Linked DNA regions of Homo sapiens: regions 1, 2, 3, 4, 5 and 6 are each linked to region 7. Evidence: promoter capture Hi-C in 16 types of primary human blood cells and fetal thymus (Javierre and others, 2016). All regions are on one chromosome and are shown on one strand. The core of a region is centred on a gene start or on the middle of the fragment in contact, and the rest is flanking DNA. Distances in the headings are between cores, read along the strand shown. Region 1 overlaps MIX23 (mitochondrial matrix import factor 23). Region 2 has its middle 9.3 kb from the start of CSTA. Region 3 overlaps CASR (calcium sensing receptor). Region 4 has its middle 19 kb from the start of CSTA. Region 5 overlaps CASR (calcium sensing receptor). Region 6 overlaps CASR (calcium sensing receptor). Region 7 holds the start of POLQ (DNA polymerase theta).

The links. Contacts are between HindIII fragments. The CHiCAGO score rates a contact against its expected background, and 5 or more counts as called.
Region 1: a contact is called between a fragment that was not itself captured here and the fragment with the promoter of POLQ in region 7, in 8 of 17 cell types (erythroblasts, naive CD8 T cells, total CD4 T cells and 5 more). The highest score is 7.8, in erythroblasts.
Region 2: a fragment that was not itself captured here is called in contact with the fragment with the promoter of POLQ in region 7 in 4 of 17 cell types (naive CD8 T cells, neutrophils, total CD8 T cells and 1 more); the score reaches 6.2 in naive CD8 T cells.
Region 3: a fragment that was not itself captured here is called in contact with the fragment with the promoter of POLQ in region 7 in 1 of 17 cell types (neutrophils); the score reaches 6.5 in neutrophils.
Region 4: a fragment that was not itself captured here is called in contact with the fragment with the promoter of POLQ in region 7 in 1 of 17 cell types (neutrophils); the score reaches 5.1 in neutrophils.
Region 5: a contact is called between a fragment that was not itself captured here and the fragment with the promoter of POLQ in region 7, in 4 of 17 cell types (naive B cells, total B cells, neutrophils and 1 more). The highest score is 6.4, in naive B cells.
Region 6: a fragment that was not itself captured here is called in contact with the fragment with the promoter of POLQ in region 7 in 8 of 17 cell types (naive CD4 T cells, naive CD8 T cells, total CD4 T cells and 5 more); the score reaches 11.5 in naive CD4 T cells.

What each region holds. Positions count from the first base shown.
Region 1 is chr3:122,364,555-122,367,638 of GRCh38, forward strand. The region is part of intron 3 of MIX23 (mitochondrial matrix import factor 23); the gene reads right to left. Among named protein-coding and RNA genes, the nearest start is that of MIX23, 17 kb to the right of the region's middle. RefSeq lists an enhancer at 1,090-1,234 and a cis regulatory region at 1,155-1,168. The HindIII fragment of the contact is 6,376 bases long and covers 1-3,084 here.
Region 2 is chr3:122,314,357-122,317,459 of GRCh38, forward strand. No RefSeq gene overlaps it. Among named protein-coding and RNA genes, the nearest start is that of CSTA, 9.3 kb to the right of the region's middle. The HindIII fragment of the contact is 2,649 bases long and covers 487-3,103 here.
Region 3 is chr3:122,268,782-122,271,645 of GRCh38, forward strand. The region is part of intron 4 of CASR (calcium sensing receptor); the gene reads left to right. Among named protein-coding and RNA genes, the nearest start is that of CSTA, 55 kb to the right of the region's middle. The HindIII fragment of the contact is 9,372 bases long and covers 1-2,864 here.
Region 4 is chr3:122,342,581-122,345,534 of GRCh38, forward strand. No RefSeq gene overlaps it. Among named protein-coding and RNA genes, the nearest start is that of CSTA, 19 kb to the left of the region's middle. The HindIII fragment of the contact is 9,676 bases long and covers 1-2,954 here.
Region 5 is chr3:122,252,581-122,255,339 of GRCh38, forward strand. CASR (calcium sensing receptor) reads left to right here. Exons shown (of 7, transcript NM_000388.4): 2 at 1,368-1,794. The coding sequence starts at 1,610. Among named protein-coding and RNA genes, the nearest start is that of CASR, 70 kb to the left of the region's middle. The HindIII fragment of the contact is 1,292 bases long and covers 637-1,928 here.
Region 6 is chr3:122,290,469-122,293,414 of GRCh38, forward strand. CASR (calcium sensing receptor) reads left to right here. Exons shown (of 7, transcript NM_000388.4): 7 at 1-1,161. Among named protein-coding and RNA genes, the nearest start is that of CSTA, 33 kb to the right of the region's middle. The HindIII fragment of the contact is 459 bases long and covers 1,384-1,842 here.
Region 7 is chr3:121,544,684-121,547,493 of GRCh38, forward strand. It overlaps POLQ (DNA polymerase theta), which reads right to left and starts at 1,305. Exons shown (of 30, transcript NM_199420.4): 1 at 1,032-1,305; 2 at 44-223. The coding sequence starts at 1,194. RefSeq lists enhancers at 1,038-1,267, 1,159-1,453. The HindIII fragment of the contact is 11,524 bases long and covers 1-2,810 here.

The DNA.
Region 1 (3,084 bases), core at 565-3,064, 820 kb after region 7:
AAGCAGTACTTATATATCATGGGAGCAGAATTTCACAATATGAAAATCTTCGAACATTAGAACTGTCCAAAAGAGAATACCCTGACACTGAGACAGGGAATCCTCCCCTGTCACAACACCCTGCCCTTAAGCAGTAGTGAAACAAAAGCTAGAAACCACTGGTTGGTGATATGACAAAGAAGATTAATGCAACAAATATGGAGTCCCAGAGACTCATAAAGGAAAGAAACTGCTACTTTGTAGCAGCCAATATGCTAGCTCTTACTTACATCCTTGAATCCTCCCCGCACATGCCCCCCAGAAATAAGAAGTTATTAGGTATCAACTCCATTTTACAGATTCAAAATCAGACTTTTCAGAACAATTAATACACAAGGTTACAAAGCCACCAAGGTAGGTGGGATTTATTTCCTCAGAGCTGTCTGCCTTTGGATTATTTTTTAAAATTCTACAACATTGCAGATATTACAGCCAATTTCTAATACAATTTTATCAGTGCTACCAACAAACTGTCACCTTTGAGACAGTTGTCTTTGAGACTGTAGGTCTTCAACAGGTAAACTTAAGGCCACTAACATGTGACAGCAGTTATAGAGGTCCAGCAACGAAGGTGCTTTTTTTGAGTTAAATATTCAGGTAAACTAGTGGGGATTTTTTGACTGGCATCTGTCTATAAATGAAATATACTCACTAAAGTATCTGACTATTAGTCACAACTTAAAGAAACTGACTGAATGCAGGGTCAGAAGAGATGGGTTAAAGTCCCAGTTCTACCACTTACTAGCTTGTGGCTTTGGGGGTGTCAGTTAGTATCTCAAGTATCTCTGAGTCTTTTTCCTCAGATAGAAAATGAAGAGGTAGAGCTGTACCATCTCCAAGAGCTCTCTCTGATTCCATAATCTTCATAGCAAACTTGAAAATTGAAAAAAAAAATTCACATTTCCTTATTTGCTTATGTACTACCCCATGGTTACCCCCAACCCTATATGTTATCAAGCTAGAAAGCAAACCTCATGCAACTCACTGATTGGTTTCTAAACCCTCCTTGCAGTGGTCATCCTGGTGATTCTATCTGGGCCCTAAAGACACAAGGGCAGATCTCAAGGCTGAGCAAATTGTGTGTCACAATCATTCCCAAACACTCAGTAGAGTTTTGAACTTTGCTCTCCACTAATGAGTCACTCTGTTGTTTGACTTGATCTGCAAACAGTGACTTTTCAGTTTCCAATTTAACAGCCTTTGCCCTGCAGTTTCCTTTGTCAACACCTTCAAGGGCGTTGAAATACAAACTCCAAAATTACTAGACTTTCACCAGTTTTATATAAATTATCTATATGCCGGCTGGACACGGTGGCTCATGCCTGTAATCCCAGCACTTTGGGAAGCTGAGACGGGCAGATCACAAGGTCAGGAGTTCGAGACCAGTCTGGCCAACATGGTGAAACCCTGTCTCTACTAAAAATACAAAAAAAAATTAGCTGGACGTGGTGGCAGGCACCTGTAACCCCAGCTACTAGGGAGGCTGAGGCAGGAGAATCTCTTGAACCTGGGAGGCGGAAGTTTCAGTGAGCCAAGATTGCACCACTGCACTCCAGCCCAGGCGATAGTGCGAGACTCCATCTCAAAAATAAATAAATAAATAAATAAATAAATAAATAAATAAATAAATAATCTATATGCCTTCATGAACAGCAAGGGGAGTAAGATCAACATCACTGCATAAGGTCACTGTCCAAGGGATCCACCAGTGCCTGTGGCATGAGCAGGTATGGAATACAGACCTGACGCAGTAGTCATGAACAAAGAGAGCAGCAAAGACAGTGGCTGAGTCCTGGATCCAGTGAGACATCCAGAATTGGCGGAATGATCGAAAAAGTGCAGCAGCCTGGCCTACTCACCTTGTGTGCAGCCAGCTACAAGGAAAGAGGTTTCTTTTCTTTTCTACTAATAGTTTTCAATAGATGACGAGGTCCCCTTTTCAAAGTTCAGCTACATCTACTAAACAAAGGGCAAACTTCATGACTGTGCAGTATGAAAAGCATGACTCAATCCCACAAGGATCCGTAAGTCACCTATTATGCCATCTTAAAATACAAACATGAAGTCAGGTGTGATGGCTCACACCTATAATCCTAGCACTTTGGGAGGCTGAGGAAGGTGGATCACTTTGAGCTCAGGAGTTTGAGATAAACCCGTGTAACATGGTGAGACTCCATCTCTACCCAAAATACAAAAAATAAGCTGGGTGTGGTGGTTCGCGCCCGTAGTCCCAGCTACTGGGGAGGCTGAGGCAGGATTGCTTGAGCCCCAGAACCAGAGGTTGCAGTAAGCTGAGATTGCAACACTGCACTCCAGCCTAGGTGACAGAGTGAGACCCCATCTCAAAAAACAAAAAAAAAACCATGATTTTGATAATTGTACACTGGTCCTGTAGGAAAAGTCCCTGTTCTTAGAAATAACTAATGAGTTTAAGGGTAAAGTGGTACAATGTGTATAACATAGTCTCAAAATGGTTCATGAAAAAACTGTATTTATGCATACAGGTGTGTGGGGAGACAGGGAGAGGGAGGAAGGCAGGGAAGGATGAAGAGAAGGAGAGAGGGAGGGTGAAGAGAAGGAGAGAGGGAGGGTGAAGAGAATGAACTGTAAAGCAGGTGGGGCAACATATAAACAATAAGTGAATATAGGTAAAGGGCACATGGGAGTTCCTTACACTATTCTTACAACTTTTTGGTAAGTTTGAAATTATACAAGATAAAAAGTTACCCCCTAAGAGTCCCCTCAAAAGAAAGACAGCAATAAATCCCACATAATAAAATATGCTGTATTTTTCTATTGTTTCCTTGACACGTCACATACAAGTGCTGTAAAGAAACAGTTCTGCTGCATTAACTGTATTCTGAAGTCTACACCCTATCTACATTATAGTTGATTTGGGAAAATAAGGCTTCCTCTGACACATCCCTAGGTAGGTACTTGCTATTTTCTTAAAAGTAAAAACACTGCAGGGATAGGGGAGGAAATGGGAAAAAGTCATGTCCAAGAAAAAGCCAAAGATCCCTAGCAACTTTTACACAGTAGGGA
Region 2 (3,103 bases), core at 561-3,060, 770 kb after region 7:
AACAGGCATCCCAGCTGACTCTGGTGTGGGTGGTTCCCAGCCCAACTTACCAGAGCACTGCTAAGTTGAACCTAGCAGCATAATTAATCCATGCTAAAACCAAACTCATAAATTAACATTTATCAAGAAGCCTTTGAGAGCTTGGTTCTATGATTATGTATGAGTCTTAGGGCTCATTTTTCCTAGGGCATAAACTGATACTAAGTCACACTGGGAGAGCCTATGATCCGTGTATATTTCTGGCAGGGCAGAATTTTCTCTATATTGACAGGCACAGCAACATTGATTGTATAACATTACTCCACCCTGGAATTTACTATTAGTCATAAAAACTGAGGCAACTCCAGTATTGCTGGTTCATTTGATGAGTATTCAGTGTGGGTAGGCCTCTACAACAACTTCTTTCTCCCCTAAAGGGCAAAAACGCAACTCAACTCACAATCCAGGCTACTGAGCAGAGGTTTGAATGACCCCTGAGCCCATACAAGCTTCTCTACATTGTTCTGAGAGCACCCAAAAGCCACTGGGATTGTTGAGACCACTGGTTTCTTTGTCCTGAAGAGAAGAGAGAGGGAAATGATTGCTGCTACACTCACTTTGAAGTGAGAAAAGTTGCGGGTGGCTGAAAATTTTACTCTGAAAAGATGCTGGGTAGCTCTTTGTTCCTACAGCCCTGCAAACTATGCTCCTGATACAGAGTGGGGCAAGTGGGGCGGGAAAGTGCTGGGAAGGGAAAGGCGTAGTCCCTCGCTGGGGATCCAGCCCCAGACCTGTGCCCACAGACCTTGGTGAGGATGGGCATTTCTGTTCTCATGCCCAAATATTGCATTTCCCACGACCACCCTGGGCTGCCATACCCCTATCTTGTGCCTATAAAAACTCCAAGATCCTAGCGGGCACACACACAAGCAGCTGGACATCAAGAGGAACACACCAATGGTTGAGGACACAAGCGGCTGGAAATTGAGAGGAACACACCCGCGTAAGAGCACACCCACAGGCACTGACAGATTTCGGCAGGCCATCGACTGGTGGAACAATGCAGAGTTTGGCTGGGGTGGTCGGAGAAGAGCCCAGCTGCCCGGAAGCCCGATTGCAGGGGAAAACCACCTTCCCACTCCAGCCCCCTTCTGGCCTTCCCATCTACCTCGCTGAGAGCTACCACTCAATAAAAATCCTTACACTCATTCTCCAAGCCCACATGTGATCTGGTTCTTCTGGTACACCAAGGCAAAAACCCCGGGATACAGAACGCCCTCTGTCCTTATAAGGCAGAGGGTCTAATAGAGCTGATTGACACAAGCCACCTACAGACAGCAAAGCTAAAAGAGCACTCTGTAACACACACCCACTGGGGCTTCAGGAGCTGTAAGCATTCACCCCTAGATGCTGCTGTGGGGTCGGAGCCCCACAACCTACCCTTCTGCATGCTCCCCCTAGAGGTTTGAGCAGCTGGGCACTGAAGAAGTGAGCCACTCCCCCTGTCACACGCCCTGTGAGGGGGACAAGGGAACTCTTCCCGTTTCACTCCCACCGCTCACCCTCTATGTCCTGGCACCCAGAGGGGAGCCCTAGGGCAGGCACACCCCCAGCCTTGTTGGCTTTAGTTATGTTCATCCCATCTTCCATCTTCATTCTCAGTGCATCTGCATAAGCCTCATTGAAGTTAGCCAAGTCCAGGACCGTAGAAGCACATATGGGTTAAATAATCCCCTCACATTCCAATCCCAGCCTTCCTTTCGCCTAAAGCATCTCCATCCCTAATTCACTGCAAAGTACTAACCTCTAACTCACGGAGGCTCAGAACTCACCTTTTGGGGATCTCCTTATGGCCTCACTCCCTGGCTGTTACTGACAACCAGCCCCAGTGGAAAGCCAGAGCACTCTGTGGCCAGAATGAGTTTTTTAAATTTGCCTTGTCTTGGCTACAATTTTTGTCACTTTTTACAATAAAAAAGTTTTTCCTGTACTTTTAGGAATTTTCTATAGCCAGAGAAGTCAAGGATGGCCAAGAAACTCCAAGTGACTAGAATACCATGACCCCAATAATTAGTATGTGGTTAGCTAAGAGATGTAAATTCATATGTACATTATACTTTTTGAGAAATAACTATCGGCTCAATTAAAGATAATCATTAAAGAAAATTTAATGCAGACTGTGTATACGTATTTGAGACAGGGTCTCACTCTGTTGCCCAGGCTGCAGTGCAGTGGTGTGATCATAGCTCACTGTAACCTTGAACTCTTGGGCTCAAACGATCCTCCCGCCTCAGCCTCCTGCAGAGCTGGGACTTACAGGTATGCACCACCATGACCGGCTTACTTTTTTTGTTTGTTTTTTGTAGAGACAGGGTCTCACCAAGTTGCCCAGGCTGGTCACAAACTCCTGCCCTCAAGCAACCCTGCCACTCTGGCCCCCTAAAGTGCTGGGATTATAGGTATGAGCCCCTGCTCCTAGATGAACTGTATATTTAAAAAGAGTTTATAATCTAGAGAAAATGTAAGTAAATATAAATAGTTATGTTTAGATACATTTTTGTTAAGTTCTCAACACTTCTCTAGAATTATTTACTCCAACATTATTTTTCCCATATTATAAAACTTCCTCCTGCCTTGTGCAGCAACTTCTGAACTGCCACCCTTGCCAACTTCAGGCTGTTGAAATGGATACAGGCAGGTTCCTAGAGAAGTATGGGAGTAGAATAGACTCTTGTGGTTTAACAAATCAGAACAAGTTTTTAAATCAAAGAAACACCAGTTTTACAGGTAAACTGAGAGGTGATCATCTAATTGATGTGATGCATAGATGCTATAAACCACCTTACTTCCCAAAATGTATTTGTTCACCTCATCCATAAAATTTCACCATTCTATTTCTTCATCTTAAAGCACTTACTCCGTCAAAATGTAGATACCCATAAGATTTTTTTATGTGTACCGTTTTGCAAAAGATTTGCAGTCTTTTCTAAGAGTTCATTCTATTTTTTTTTTCATATCCTTTAGACTCAGTAAGAGTCCATTTAAATAGATGACATAGGAAAAGTAGAAGAGGACAGATACATCTATGGGGATTGGGGAAAGGATGGAAATCTGAGAGCCTGAT
Region 3 (2,864 bases), core at 340-2,839, 720 kb after region 7:
AGTAACACAGTACCTAGATACAGGCACAGATAAGGGAGGTCAGTGATCTCAGAGAAGTGGTCAGAAAACTCTCACACAAGAAACCACAGTAATGCTGACTTCATAAACTGGGGCTGGAACTTAGCTCTGCATTGTTAACAAAGTAAATTACATGAAGGAAAGCATGTTTTGGTAAGGATTTTAAGAGTATAAACAGGGTTATTGAGGCATAAAGATCCAGAAACCATTAAATTTTAAATTATTCTTGTATTTTTAACTGATGTAGGCCTCCTAAGAATCTTTATCAGGAACAATTTATTAGCCTAATTTGTACTAATAAATATGCCTAAAAGAAGAAAAGAAGCAACTTTAAAAAAATTATTTTGGCCTTTTTATTTGTTTGCTTGTTTTTGTTTATTTCAGTTTAGAATTTAGATCATATTTTCAATCTTACTCGGCCTGATTCAGCCCAATTGAACTGGTTAGAACTCCCAGTATAATCTTGTATAGATATAGTGAGGACAGACATTACTGTCTGCATCTGATCAGGGGGAAAGCATTCAGTCTTTTACCACTGAGTATGATGTTAACTTTCATAGATGCCCTTTATAGAGTTGAGAAAGTTCCCTTTTATTCCTATATTGCCGAGAGCTTTTATCAGGAATGGAGGTTGGATGTCATCAGTGCTTTTTCTGTATCTATTCAGAAAATCATGTGGTTTTTCTTTTGTAGTATGTTATTGTAGTTGACCATCAAACCAACCTTTCGTTCCTGGGATTAATCCTACTTGGTCATAATGTATATTCCTTTTTGTACATGTATTTGTGTGTTTGATTTACTAAAATTTGGTTAAGAAATTTTGCTTCTATGTTCATGAGGACTATTGGTCTAAAGTTTTATTTTCTTGTAATGTCTTTGTCTGGTTTTGGTGTCTGGGTAATGATGACCTCAGAATGAGTTTGGCAGTATTGACTTCTTTTTTGATGTTCTGTAAGACTTTTGTAGAATTGGTATTAATTCTTCCTTAAATCTTTGGCAGCACTCATCAGTGAAGCCACCTTTAGTTGGTTTTCTTTGTGGGATTGTTTTGTTTTGTTTTGAGATGGAGTCTTGCTCTGTCACCCAGGATGGAGTAAAGTGGCATGATCTTGGCTCACTGCAACCTCCGCCTCCCAGGTTCAAGAGATTCTTCTGCCTCAGCCTCCCGAGTAGCTGGGATTACAGGCATGCACCACCACCACCAGCTAATTTTTGTATGTTTAGTAGAGATGGGGTTTCACCATGTCGACCAGGCTCGTCTCTAACTCCTGGCCTCAAGTGATCCACCCACCTCGGCTTCCCAAAGTGCTGGGATTACAGGCATGAACCACTGTCCATGGCCTGTGGGAAAATTTTGAACTGAAAATTCAATTTATTTAATGGATAGAATGCTATTTAGGTATATATGAGTCAGCTTTGATAGTTTGTCTTTCAAAGACTTTGTCCACATCGTCTAATTTGCCAAATTTACTGGCATAAGTTTATTTATAATATTGTTTACAATGTTCTCAGACTATAATTATAATGTCTGCAGCATCTGTAGTGTTGTCACTTCTCGAATTTATCATATTGTAAATATGCATCTTCTCCCTTTTTTCTGATCAGTCTGGCTAGAGATCCATCAACTTTATTAATCTTCTCAAAGAATCAGCTTTTGGCTTTAGTGATTTTTCTCTATATTTTTGTTGTCTGTTTCATTTATTTCTATTCTGATCTTTGTCATCTCCTGTCTTCTGATTTATTTCAGTTTAATTTGCTCTTCTTTTTGTAGTTACTTATTTGGAAACTGAAGTCATTGATTTAAAAACCTTTCTTTTCTTATAATATAGACATTTACTGCTATAAATTTCACTATAAATATTTTATTAGCTGCATCCCTCAAATTTTGATATGCTGTGTTTTCATTTTAATTCAATTTAAAATACGTTCCAACTTTCCTTTTGATTTCTTCTTTGGCTCTCAGGTTTAGAAGTGTGTTATTTGGTTTCCAAGTTTCCAGTGATTTTTCCAAACATTTTTCTGTTATTTGTTTTTAATTTAATTCCATTGGAGTCAACATATTTTGTTTGATTTTAATATTTTTAAATTTATTGAAACTTGCTTTATAATCCAGAATATGGTTTATCTTTATAAATATTTTGTGTTCTTGAAAATAATGTATATTCTGTTGTTGGGATGACTGTTCTGTAAATATCAATTAGATCAAGTTGGTTGATAGTACTGTCCAAGTCTTTTAAGTCTTTTATATTTGTATTGATTTTCTGCCTACTTCTTTCAGCTAATACGAATGCCCTATTGACCTTATTTTTCTCATTTATCCTCAGACTGATAAAAACCTCATCATGGGCATGACTTGTCCACATAGTCATGCTGGACACCTACAGGTTTAATATCTATTCTATTAATTATGCACTCAAAAGACAAGGTTTGAGTATCCACTAAAATCTAGGCCCTCTACAAACCACTGGAGATACAGAAGGAAATAAGGCAGTTCCTGCTTTAGAGAAGTTTGGTCTAATGAAGTGTGGGTACAACATTCCTAGCCACAAAGATTCCAGAGTGCTTCCTTCTCCAGATAAGATGTTTACATTGCCATCTCTTCCCTCCTGCCTACTCTTTATCTCCCTGCCACATCCGAAGTTGGACTTGCCATGTCTCATTACTCAACTCGCTACACCAAGTATCCTAGAGGCTACCTTGTTATCAAGGATCCTGCCAACTACAAATGTCGGTTTCACTAATTAATTCATATTTGGATTTTTAAAGTCCTTTTCCATGCCTTCTTTTTTGCAACAGCTTTATAAGATGTAATTCACATGCCATACAATTCAGTCATTTAAAGTATA
Region 4 (2,954 bases), core at 160-2,659, 800 kb after region 7:
TAAGACAAACCTGGGCAACATAGCGAGACCATGTCTCTACAAAAAGAAATTAGAAATTAGCTGGGCATGGTGGTATGCACCTGTAGTCCTAGCTACTTGGGAGGCTGACGTGGGGGGATGGCTTAAGCCCAGGAATTCGAGGCTACAGTGAGCTATACTCATGCCACTGCACTCCAGCCTGGGTGACAAAGAGAGACCGTGTCTCTAAAAAAAAAAAATTAAAAATAAAATTAAACAATTAAGAAATTAACACTGATACACTGGTAGCATCTAATCCCCAGACACCATTCAAATTACCCCAATTGTCCCAATAATGTCATTTATTACAAAAAGATCCAAGCCAGGTGAGGTGGCAAGCACCTGTAGTCCTAGCTACTCAGGTGGCAGAGGCAGGAGGACCTCTAGAGGCCAGGAGTTCAAGGCTATGGTGTGCAATGATCGTGCCCATGAGTAGCCACTGCATGCCAGCCTGGGCAACATAGCAAGACCCCATCCCAAAAAAAAGATCCAATCCAAAATAACTTGCTCCATTTAATTGCCATTTTCCTCTTATTTAATACCTTCATTGAGACATAAATTGAAACATACAACTTACCCATTTAAAGTGTACAAGTGAATAGTTTTATACCACATTCACAAATGCGTGCAGACCTCACAAAATTTTAGAACATTTTCGTCACCTCAAAAAGAAGTCTCATACCTGTTAGCTGTCACTTCCCCAGCCTCCTCCACACATAAGCAACAACTCAACTCCTAAGCAACAACTAATTTACTGTCTAGATTTGCCTGGTCTGGACATTCATACATGTGGAATTATATAATATGTGGTGGTCCTTTGTAACTGCCTTCCTTCACTTAACATAGTTTTCAAAATTCATCAGTGTTGTAGCACGTCTCAGTATTTTATTCCTTTTTATGGACAAATATTCCATTTTATCAATATATCACACGTTGTTTATTAACTAATCAGTTGACAGATATTTAAGTTGCTTTCACCTTTTGACTATCAGGAACACTGCTACTATAAATATTTGTGTACAAGGTTTTGTGTGTACATAGGTTTTCATTTCTCTTGGGTATATACCTAGGAGTAGAATTGCTGGTTCATACGGTAACTAACTCTATGTTTAATTGTTTGAGAAACTTACAGACGGTTTTCTGAAGTGGTCACACCATTTTACATTCTCACCAACAGTGGATGAGAGTTCCATTTTCTCCATATCCTCACCCACACTTGTTATTATCTGAATTTTTTTAAGGTTAGCCATCTTAGTGGATGTGAAATAATAGCTCATTGTGGTTTTGATTTGTATTTCCCTGATGACTAATGCTATTGAACATCTTTTCATGAGATGATTAGCCATTTGTATTAGGCTGATGCAAAAGTTAGTGTAGTTTTTGCCATTTAAAAATAATAACAAAAAACATAATTACCTGTCTTAGTCCATTTTCTGTTGCTTATAACAGAATATCTGAAACTGGGTAATTTATAAAGAAAATGAGTTTATTTATTACAGTTATGGAGGCTGAGAAGTCCAAAGCTGAGGGCCAGGCACAGTGGCACATGCCTGTAATCCCAGCACTTTGGGAGGCCGAGGTGGGTGGATCACCTGAGGTCAGGAGTTTGAGACCAGTTTGACTAACATGGTGAAATTCCATCTCTACTAAATACAAAAAATTAGCCAGGAGTGGTGGTGCATGCCTGTAATCCCAGCTATTTGGGAGGCTGAGGCAGGAGAATCACTTGAACCCAGGAGGCAGAGGTTGCAGTGAGCTAAGATCGTGCCATTGCACTCCAGCCTGGGCAACAAGTGTGAAACCCTGTCTCAAAAAAAAAGAAGTGCAAAGTTGAGGGACCACATCTGGTGAGAGCCTTCTTGCAGGTGGCGACTCTCTGCAGAGTCCTGTCCTGAGGCAGCACAAGCATCATCACATGGCGAGGGGGCTGAGCATGATAGATCAGGTCTCTCTTCCTCTTCTTACAAAGCCACCCGCCCCACTCCCATGATAACCCATTAATCCATTAATCCATGAATGGATTAAGCCATTCATGAGGGCAGAGCCCTTATTATTCCATCATCTTTTAAGGGCCCCACCTCTCAATAGTACCACATTGGGGATTAAGTTTCAACATCAGTTTTGAAGGAGTCAAATATTCAAACCACAGCATATATTCTGAATACAGGCCCCTTATCTGATATATGATTTGCAAATACTTTCTTCTCATTTTGTGGTTATCTTTTCAATCTCTTGATGGCATTCTCTGAAGCACAAAAGTTTTTAATTTTAATGAAGTCCAAATTATCTATTTATCTTTTTGCTCCTCATGCTCTTGGTATCATAACTAAGGATCCTTTGCCAAATCCAAACTCATAGTGATTTACTCCCCTGTTTTCTTCTAAGTGATATGTAGCTTTAGCTCTTACATTTAGGTCGTTTGTCCCTTTTGAGTTAATTTTTGTATATGGTGTGAGGTAAGTGTCCAACTTCATTCTTTTGCATGTGGCTATCTAGTTATCTTAGCACCATTGGTTGAAAAGATTTCTTTACCCCATCGAATTATCTTGGCACCCTTGTTGAAAATCAGTTGATCACAGGCACGAGTTAATTTCTCAACTCTCAATTTTATTCCATTAATCTATATATCTATCCTTTTGTCAGTACTACACTTTTTTGATTACTGTTGCCTTGTAATAAGTTTTACAATTGTGAAGTGTGAGTCCTTCCAACTTTGCTCTTCCTTTTCAAGAGTTTTTTGGCTCTTCTGAATTCTTTGAACTTCCACATGAATTTTAGAATCAGCTTATAAATTTCTACAAAGAAGTCAGCTAGGATTTTCATAGAGATTATGCTGAATCTGTAGATAAGTTTGGGTAATACTGCCATCTTAACAATATTAAGCCTCTGATCCATGAACATAAGATGTTTTCCCAATTATTTCTATCTGTATTTCT
Region 5 (2,759 bases), core at 33-2,532, 710 kb after region 7:
ACTAAAAATAATCTTGGAAATGGCGAGGAGTAAATGGATTCCAGAGAGAATTAAGAAGTAGAATCTACAGGGCTTAGGGATTGTGTAAATATGAAGGACAATGATGAGAACAGAAAGGAGGAAAAGATGGCTCCTTATTTTGTGTCTCTGTGGATGGCATGTAATCTTCTAAGATAGAAAACAGTGAGGGAGAAACAAGTCCAGTAGGGAGGTAAGTTTAGGGCCTGTTAAATTCAAAGAATCTGTGGAACATTCATGTGGCAGTGTCCAGTTGGCAGTCCAGTGCTTGGCCCTGAGCCTCAAGACAGGCTGGATATTTAGCCCCATCAACCTGTAATTGGTAATTGACTCACAGGGTGAGTGAGATAGGGTGCGGAGTGAGAAGAGCAGAGTTCCTACTCTACTAATCATAGTATAGCAGGAGGGCTTTCTCCTATATCCAGCTGTTGATCTTTGTAAAACACAATCTAATCCATGATTTCTCTGAATTTCGTATAAGAACTGTTCTTAAAAGGCTTACAGGGTGTCATATTACAAACTGAAACCAGAGACCTGCACAAAAAAAGGAGACTATCATAAAAAATAAAGAATAAGTGGTCTTTTCCAACATTTTTGTTTGGTTCAAAGTCAGATTTAAGCTTAAATATGACTCATTCTCTATTTTCTTTCTTTTTTTCTGAGACAGAGTTTCACTCTTGTTGCCCAGTCTGGAGTGCAATGGCACGATCTCGGCTCACTGCAACCTCCACCTCCCAGATTCAAGCAATTCTCCTGCCGCAGCCTCCCAAGTAGCTGGGATTACAGGCGTATGCCACCACATCCAGCTAATTTTGTATTTTTTTAGTACAGACAGGGTTTCACCATGTTGGTCAAGCTGATCTTGAACTCCTGACCTCAGGTTATCCACCTGCCTCAGCTCCCCATAGTGCTAGGATTACAGGCGTGAGCCATTGCACCCAGCTTCATTCTATATTTTCTATAAGAACTTACATGCTGAATAAAATATCTCTAATATTATTATAACAAAAGGAGCTTCTGCTACTAATAGGCCAAATTTATGCCTCATTCACACAGGAAAATGAATGGATTAAAATCCAGCATCAGCACCAGCAGAGGTCTTAGGTTATCAAGGGCCTCTTTAAAATTTGACCTCTCATAACCTAACATAGTTCTTCCCCAATATGGGCAATTGACGTTTCCTGTATTTTACATGAAGTGCTATAAAAATGTGACTCCAAGCCAGGCCTTTTCAGTCTGCCACCCCTAGGCCCCTCTAAATGGAAATTCTGAGCCACCTTAGTTGCAGTGGTCATCACAAGATGGGATTGAGGTTTAGCTGAATCCATTTTGTCTTTCTTTTCTTTTAGAAGGCATCACAGGAGGCCTCTGCATGATGTGGCTTCCAAAGACTCAAGGACCACCCACATTACAAGTCTGGATTGAGGAAGGCAGAAATGGAGATTCAAACACCACGTCTTCTATTATTTTATTAATCAATCTGTAGACATGTGTCCCCACTGCAGGGAGTGAACTGCTCCAAGGGAGAAACTTCTGGGAGCCTCCAAACTCCTAGCTGTCTCATCCCTTGCCCTGGAGAGACGGCAGAACCATGGCATTTTATAGCTGCTGCTGGGTCCTCTTGGCACTCACCTGGCACACCTCTGCCTACGGGCCAGACCAGCGAGCCCAAAAGAAGGGGGACATTATCCTTGGGGGGCTCTTTCCTATTCATTTTGGAGTAGCAGCTAAAGATCAAGATCTCAAATCAAGGCCGGAGTCTGTGGAATGTATCAGGTAAGAAGAGGGGCCTAATCTGCCAATCTCTTCTCTTCTGAGTGGTTGGAGAAAAGCTGCACCAAACGCAAAATAATTTTTTCAAACTTTGTCCTATCTTTTCAAGAATAGTGATTGATTGGTAATCATGCTGAAGCTTATTGCCCCCACAACCTGCCTTTTTTTTCCTGAAGACTTCTTTTTAAATAAAATGTCAATGATATTAAGTAGAAAATCCATGCATGGCCTGTTAAAGCACCTGGTGGTCATTTGGTGACCAAGTTATCATCGTTCACCTGGCAGCAGTGTTGCTTAATGGAAGACTAAGTACCTAGAAGGAAATTTATTGCAGGTCTTGCAAACCTGAGTAGTAAAATCCCCCATTGACCTTACATGCTCCAATGGATAGTAATACCTGAGTGCTGGCTGCCTCACTCTTTTTCTTTTTTTTCTTTCTTTTTTTTAAGGCATTTAAGTTGAAAGAAACCACAGTAGTCAGCATGACCCAGGCATCTTCAAACTGTAAAATGTAGTCCATAGCATTTTGGAACTACTGCCATCAAAAAGTCTTTTGCATAGGAAGGTTATCCCCCCTTGCCACCCTCCCCACCCCCCATCCACCCTGCCAAGAATGCATCTCACTCTCTCAATAGATTCTCTCTGTGGCCACTTGAAGAGAGCTAATATGTCTCATCAAATATTTTCTTCTCCAAGCCACATAGTCTGTTTTATCATCATTTTCTCCATGATATGCTTTCCAGACCCGTCATCATCCTGGTTGTCCTCCATCTGATGCCCCCTAATTTACTGCGACCCTTTTAGAATATAGTCTCCAGGGTGAGGCACATCTCTTTAAATGGGATCTGACTTCTGCAGAATATGGTTGGGACTGTTTATCACCTCCCCTAATCTACACTGGAGACTGACTGTGCTCCAAATCTTGACCCATCTTCTAGAGAGACTTGCAACTTCCAGAAGGGATCCAG
Region 6 (2,946 bases), core at 363-2,862, 750 kb after region 7:
ATGAGAAACTTATAAATTATAAATATACACTCATTATAAATGAAGATTGCTTGGTAATGGACTAATGGATAATTGTTTCTGCTTCTTTAGGATGTTCTAAATTTTTCCCAAGTTTTGTACATTAAGCACAAAATTATAACAGGAAAATAAAGAAAAGAATTTAAAATAAACATGCAACCAAATTTTAAACAGATAAGTATATCATATTAGATAGGAATCACCATACTGGGTCAGTCACCCCTCCTCCAAATTTTTCTTTATTCTTTTTTTTTTATTATACTTTAAGTTTTAGGGTACATGTGCACAACGTGCAGGTTTGTTACATATGTATACATGTGCCATGTTGGTGTGCTGTACCCATTAACTCGTCATTTACCATTAGGTATATCTCCTAATGCTATCCCTCCCCCCTCCCCCCACCCCACAATAGGCCCTGGTGTGTGATGTTCCCCTTCCTGTGTCCATGTGATCTCATTGTTCGATTCCCACCTATGAGTGAGAATACGTGGTGTTTGGTTTTTTGTCCTTGTATTAGTTTGCTGAGAATGATGGTTTCCAGCTTCATCCATGTCCCTACAAAGGACACGAACTCCTCATTTTTTATGGCTGCATAGTATTCCATGGTGTATATGTGCCACATTTTCTTAATCCAGTCTATCGTTGTTGGACATTTGGGTTGGTTCCAAGTCTTTGCTATTGTGAATAGTGCCACAATAAACATATGTGTGCATGTGTCTTTATAGCAGCATGATTTCTAATCCTTTGGGTATATACCCAGTAATGGGATGGCTGGGTCAAATGGTATTTCTAGTTCTAGATCCCTGAGGAATCGCCACACTGACTTCCACAATGGTTGAACTAGTTTACAGTCCCACCAACAGTGTAAAAGTGTTCCTATTTCTCCACATCCTCTCCAGCACCTGTTGTTTCCTGACTTTTTAATGATCGCCATTCTAACTGGTGTGAGATGGTATCTCATTGTGGTTTTGATTTGCATTTCTCTGATGGCCAGTGATGATGAGCATTATAAATGAAGATTGCTTGGTAGTGGACTAATGGATAATTGTTTCTGCTTCTTTAGGATTTTCTAAATTTTTCCCAAGTTTTGTATATTAAGCACAAAATTATAACAGGAAAATAAAGAAAAGAATTTAAAATAAACATGCAACCAAATTTTAAACAGATAAGCATATCATATTAGATAGGAATCACCATATTGGGTCAGTCACCCCTCCTACAAATTTTTCCAGAGCTCTAATTAGCTCCCAAGAGTTTCATGGGACTTTTAAATTTCTGAACGGGCCGAGGACATAGAATAGTGGAAAAGAGGGGGATTCTAGGCAGTATGACAGATAAGTTACACGTCTTTGGATGAGGCACTTAAGCTTTCTTTGTCTCACTTTCCACTATGAAAAGTACATAGGCCAGGCATGGTAGCTCATGCCTGTAATCCCAGCACTTTAGGAGGCCAAGGCAGGAGGATCATTTGAGGTCAGGAGTGTGAGACAAGCCTGGGCAACATGGTGAAACTTCATCTGTACAAAAAATACAAAAAATTAGCTGGGCATGATGGCATGCACCTGTAATCCCAGCTACTTGGGAGGCTGAGGTGGAAGGCTCCCTTGGGTCCAGGAGGCAGAGGTTGCAATGAAGCAAGATGTAGCCACTGCACTCCAGCCTGGGCAACAGAGCCAGACTTTGTCTCAAAAAAAGAAAAGTAGATAGACTATTACCTGCCATAATTACCAACTATGGTTGTTTGCCAAATAAAACAAGTGATTTGAAAGGAACTTCAGGAATATAGGCAAAATATAAATAATTATTAAAACCATGGGTGACTGAAGCTTAGAGAATTTGCTTTTGAAATCTCAGGAAGTACCATGGAATGCAATGATTTCTTCTGTCAGGTTTCTTAGTTGGAGGCAATAGAATTCACTCTAACTAGTTCAAGCAGAAAGGTACTTGTTATATGGTATTAGGAAGCTTATAACATTTTGGGAGGCTCAGTGATCCAAATTTAGTTGCTATACAATCAGGATCAATTCACCCAGGAGAAATACCTAATCCCCCTATGAGGGTGTTCTGGCAAAAGCTTCATAACCTCCCCTGCCTTCCACTTAGCACCAAGACACAGAGAACAGGACACTGGAACCTTCACTGAAGCTGGAGGAACCAAATCCCTCTGCCTGTGCTTGGCCCCACTCACACCAACTTTCCAAGTCTCATATCAGCCACATGCAGAGCCCTGGCTGTCAAGGAGTCTGGAAATGTAGCATTTGTTTCCCAGCCTCTATAGTGGAGGAAGACCTGCTAGAAGAGGGTCAGAGTGGCTACTGAACAAGCCCGTCCGCAGTGTCTACCACCCCAAAACAAAGATTTTTAAGATCAAACACAACATGAAAAACACACTCTCTTAAGAAAAATATAAGCAAAATATGATTTATTTTTATCTCCACAGCTGTGGTAGATCCACAAGATGCTGTGCTGGAGGCTGAACTACACCTGGCATTTTACTATGAGGGAGAACCTGCTGGCAGAGGAGATGGAAAGACAGCGGGAACTTGCACTGCAGGGGAGGGTGCTACAGGGGAGTGTGGCAACAAGTGTGTTTTATTATAAGCCAATTAGTACTATTTGTCTTTTTAAATAACACACATATGTTTGTATGTGTGTCTTTGTGTGTGTTGGTGTTGTATGGTAACCCGACCTGATAGTAATAAGTTAACAAGAAATGACGGTTTCCAGATGGAGGTTGCTGGGGGGAGAGTGCTAAGTGAACATGCTATGCGAACTGCATGCTTTTTACAAGAGGTTGAGGTTCTCCCATCCAGTCCACCACCACTGAACTGCCCTGTATTTAAGTCCCCTTCAGGAAACCCTGTGCCTGCTTTGCTGGCTCCAGGTCTCTTCTTCAGCCTCTTGAACCTGGTGCCATCCCTACTGCAG
Region 7 (2,810 bases), core at 55-2,554:
TCATATCTTAAAAATAGTAATTAGTTTACATAAATTTGGATACCTGAATAAACTAAATTCTTTCCTTCCAGGACTTGTCCAAGCAAAAGGCACTCTGCCTGCCATTCAAACATCTTTTTTACACCAAAACTGTGGTATTTTTCCAGAACTGCTTTAGGAAGTCCCCAGTTTGCCAATAGTAGCTTGTCTCTTTCGTAGTCAGGAACTGTAGGCTTGCATTCTCCTTTTAGGAAAAAGAAAAAATTAAAATTTAATTTACTTCTAATATATGAGTTTTACAGTTAGCCCTTCACCGTGTGTTGGAATTCCTATGTGTTGAAATGAAGCTCTTTAAAGCACATCCTGACTTCAAGAATCTTATGAGAAATTGACCATGTATAGAAAAGTAATAAATTGTTATTTACTGCATATAATAAAAATTCCTTAAAAGCCTCAAACGAACAAAAAAGCGTGCAATACACAGTAGATAAAGAGTGTTGGAATTACGGGTGTAGTTGGGGGAGGAGGGCAATATGCAAGCATTACAAAGCTAAGTTAGGTGAGTTTCTATTTATAGTAAGTTTTAGTTCCATGACGACTGCACAACTAACGATTTTAAAAAACTGGGTCGACATCCACGGGACACCCAACCAATCTCATTACGAATCCCTTCCAGCCTTCCCCTGGACGCCGAACAGCCTGTGCCGTACTCCAGGCCCAACAATCCTGTCTTAAGGGTCTGTAAGGAGTACTGGGTACTACCAGGAACGAGCCGCCCAACAGATGATGGGATGAAGCTAACTAGGAAGTTGTTTCTCTAAAGGTCGAAAGATCCAGAAGCCACGTGAACATTAATACCAGGCGATCACTGAAAACACGCGTATGTCTGAACAGAAAGTGACCTGCCACACCAGGCCCCAGTCACAGAGAAGGGGAGTAGAAGCCCAATGGGGTATGCAACGAAGCAAGTCCCGTGGGGTGAGGACACCTCCCGACCCATGGCCCGGCGGAGCTGCCCCCGTTGCCCGCGGCCTCCCGGGTTCCTGGAGCACCTGCAGCTGCGGCCTTCAGGCAGCGACCAAGGCCGGGCGGCGGGCTCAGCACGGACCCGGAGAGGAACTGGGGGCTGGCACTGCTGTCACCGCCGCTTCCCGAGAACGAATCTGAGCCTGATTCTGAACGCCGCCGTTTCCCACTCCGACGCAGAAGATTCATGGCAAACTCTTCTCGGCCGATCAGGGCAAGCCACAGTCCCAGCGTCCTCCCTCTCGGGAGAACCCTGGCCTGGCAACAGCTGCGGACATCTTCCCGCCAGTCTTCAAACTCAAACCTCCCGGCCCGCCCCGGAACCATAGAGTTCTCCGTGGCTTAAGTAACCCGAAAGCCATAGACTCGTGGGGAAGGAGCGGCTCTCGCTGGCGTCTAAGACTTCCGGCCTCCAACCTCCTGGTTGGTTAATATGAGAGATAGATTAAAGAGGAAGAATACAGAATCTACAGTTATAACCATACTGACCTAAAAGCCTTCCTTCTCCTTTTGTCCATTTCTGGTTTGAATAGGAAGGCCATGCTAACTTCATAAAATGGGCTGCCCATAATAGGTAGATCAGGGAAGTAGCTCTTCTTAACGTATTGGTATTCTGTAAAAAATTATTTCAGATTGAGAAGCATTATGCAAGATAGCCTAGGGTTTCTAATAGAGCATAATTTCCTCCTTTCTCCTAGTATATGATGGTAGGGCAGGGCTATTTCTGAACACAATTTCCATTTTAGCCAGCATGCATTGTGAGGAATATGTAATGAGGAATTGGGGATTGCTGGCTGACAGACCCCTGAGACACTATATGAACGCCGCGAGGAAGGGGCTCTGAATATACCCCAGGGATCGTTATGAGCCAAGAGCTTAGTAATGCATCTGTGTTGTCCCTTTTGTAAAGGTAGAAGCGAACGAGTTCTGAACGTAAAACGGTGACCATTCATTACCTAGTTGCATAATTCATTTCACCAAGCAAAACTAGTAGGCCCTAAGCCTGACCTGAAGAGGCTGTGCAGTTCTAGAGCACTAAAAATCTCAAAAGGTCCAGTCCAATTAAAAAAAAAAAAAACACTCGAATACAATCTGGAAAATAGCATTCGAACCATCAATTCCTTCCGTGAAAACATTTTTTTGATTTAAATGACAATATTCTAAAGTTCCACGAGATGGCGACATTACTCCGTGAATGAAACATTTTTCTCTTGGCCTTTTACGCAATCAACAACTATTTACTGAGTATCTACTGTAAGCTAGCCACTGGGTAAATGGCAGTGAAATGGCATAAAATGGTTCCTGCTCTCAAAGAGAAAGAGTCTAGAGAATAAGGCAGACATTAAACAAGTCAGTTAATGAAGTGTGCCATATGCTTGGGCAGAAATGAAGAGTACTATTAAAGAAATAAAAGAGATCTCGCCGGCCGTGGTGGCTCACGCCTGTAATCCCAGCACTTTGGGAGGCCGAGATGAGTGCATCACCTGAGGTCAGGAGCTCTAGACCAGCCTGGCCAACATGGTGAAACCCCGTCTCTACAAAAATACAAAAAATTAGCCGGGTATGATGGCGGGTGCCTGTAATCCCAGCTACTCTGGAGGCTGAGGCGGGAGAATTGCTTGAACCTGGGAGGCGGTGGTTGTAGTGAGCCGAGATCGCACCACTGCACTCCAACCTGTGCGACAAAGAAAGACTCCGTCTCAAAAAAAGAAAAAAAAAAAAAAGAGAGAGAGACCCCTAGATTGCAGCCAAGAAAGAACTTTCTCAGATGCAGTGTAACTTAAGGGTTAACAGTGCAACTCTGG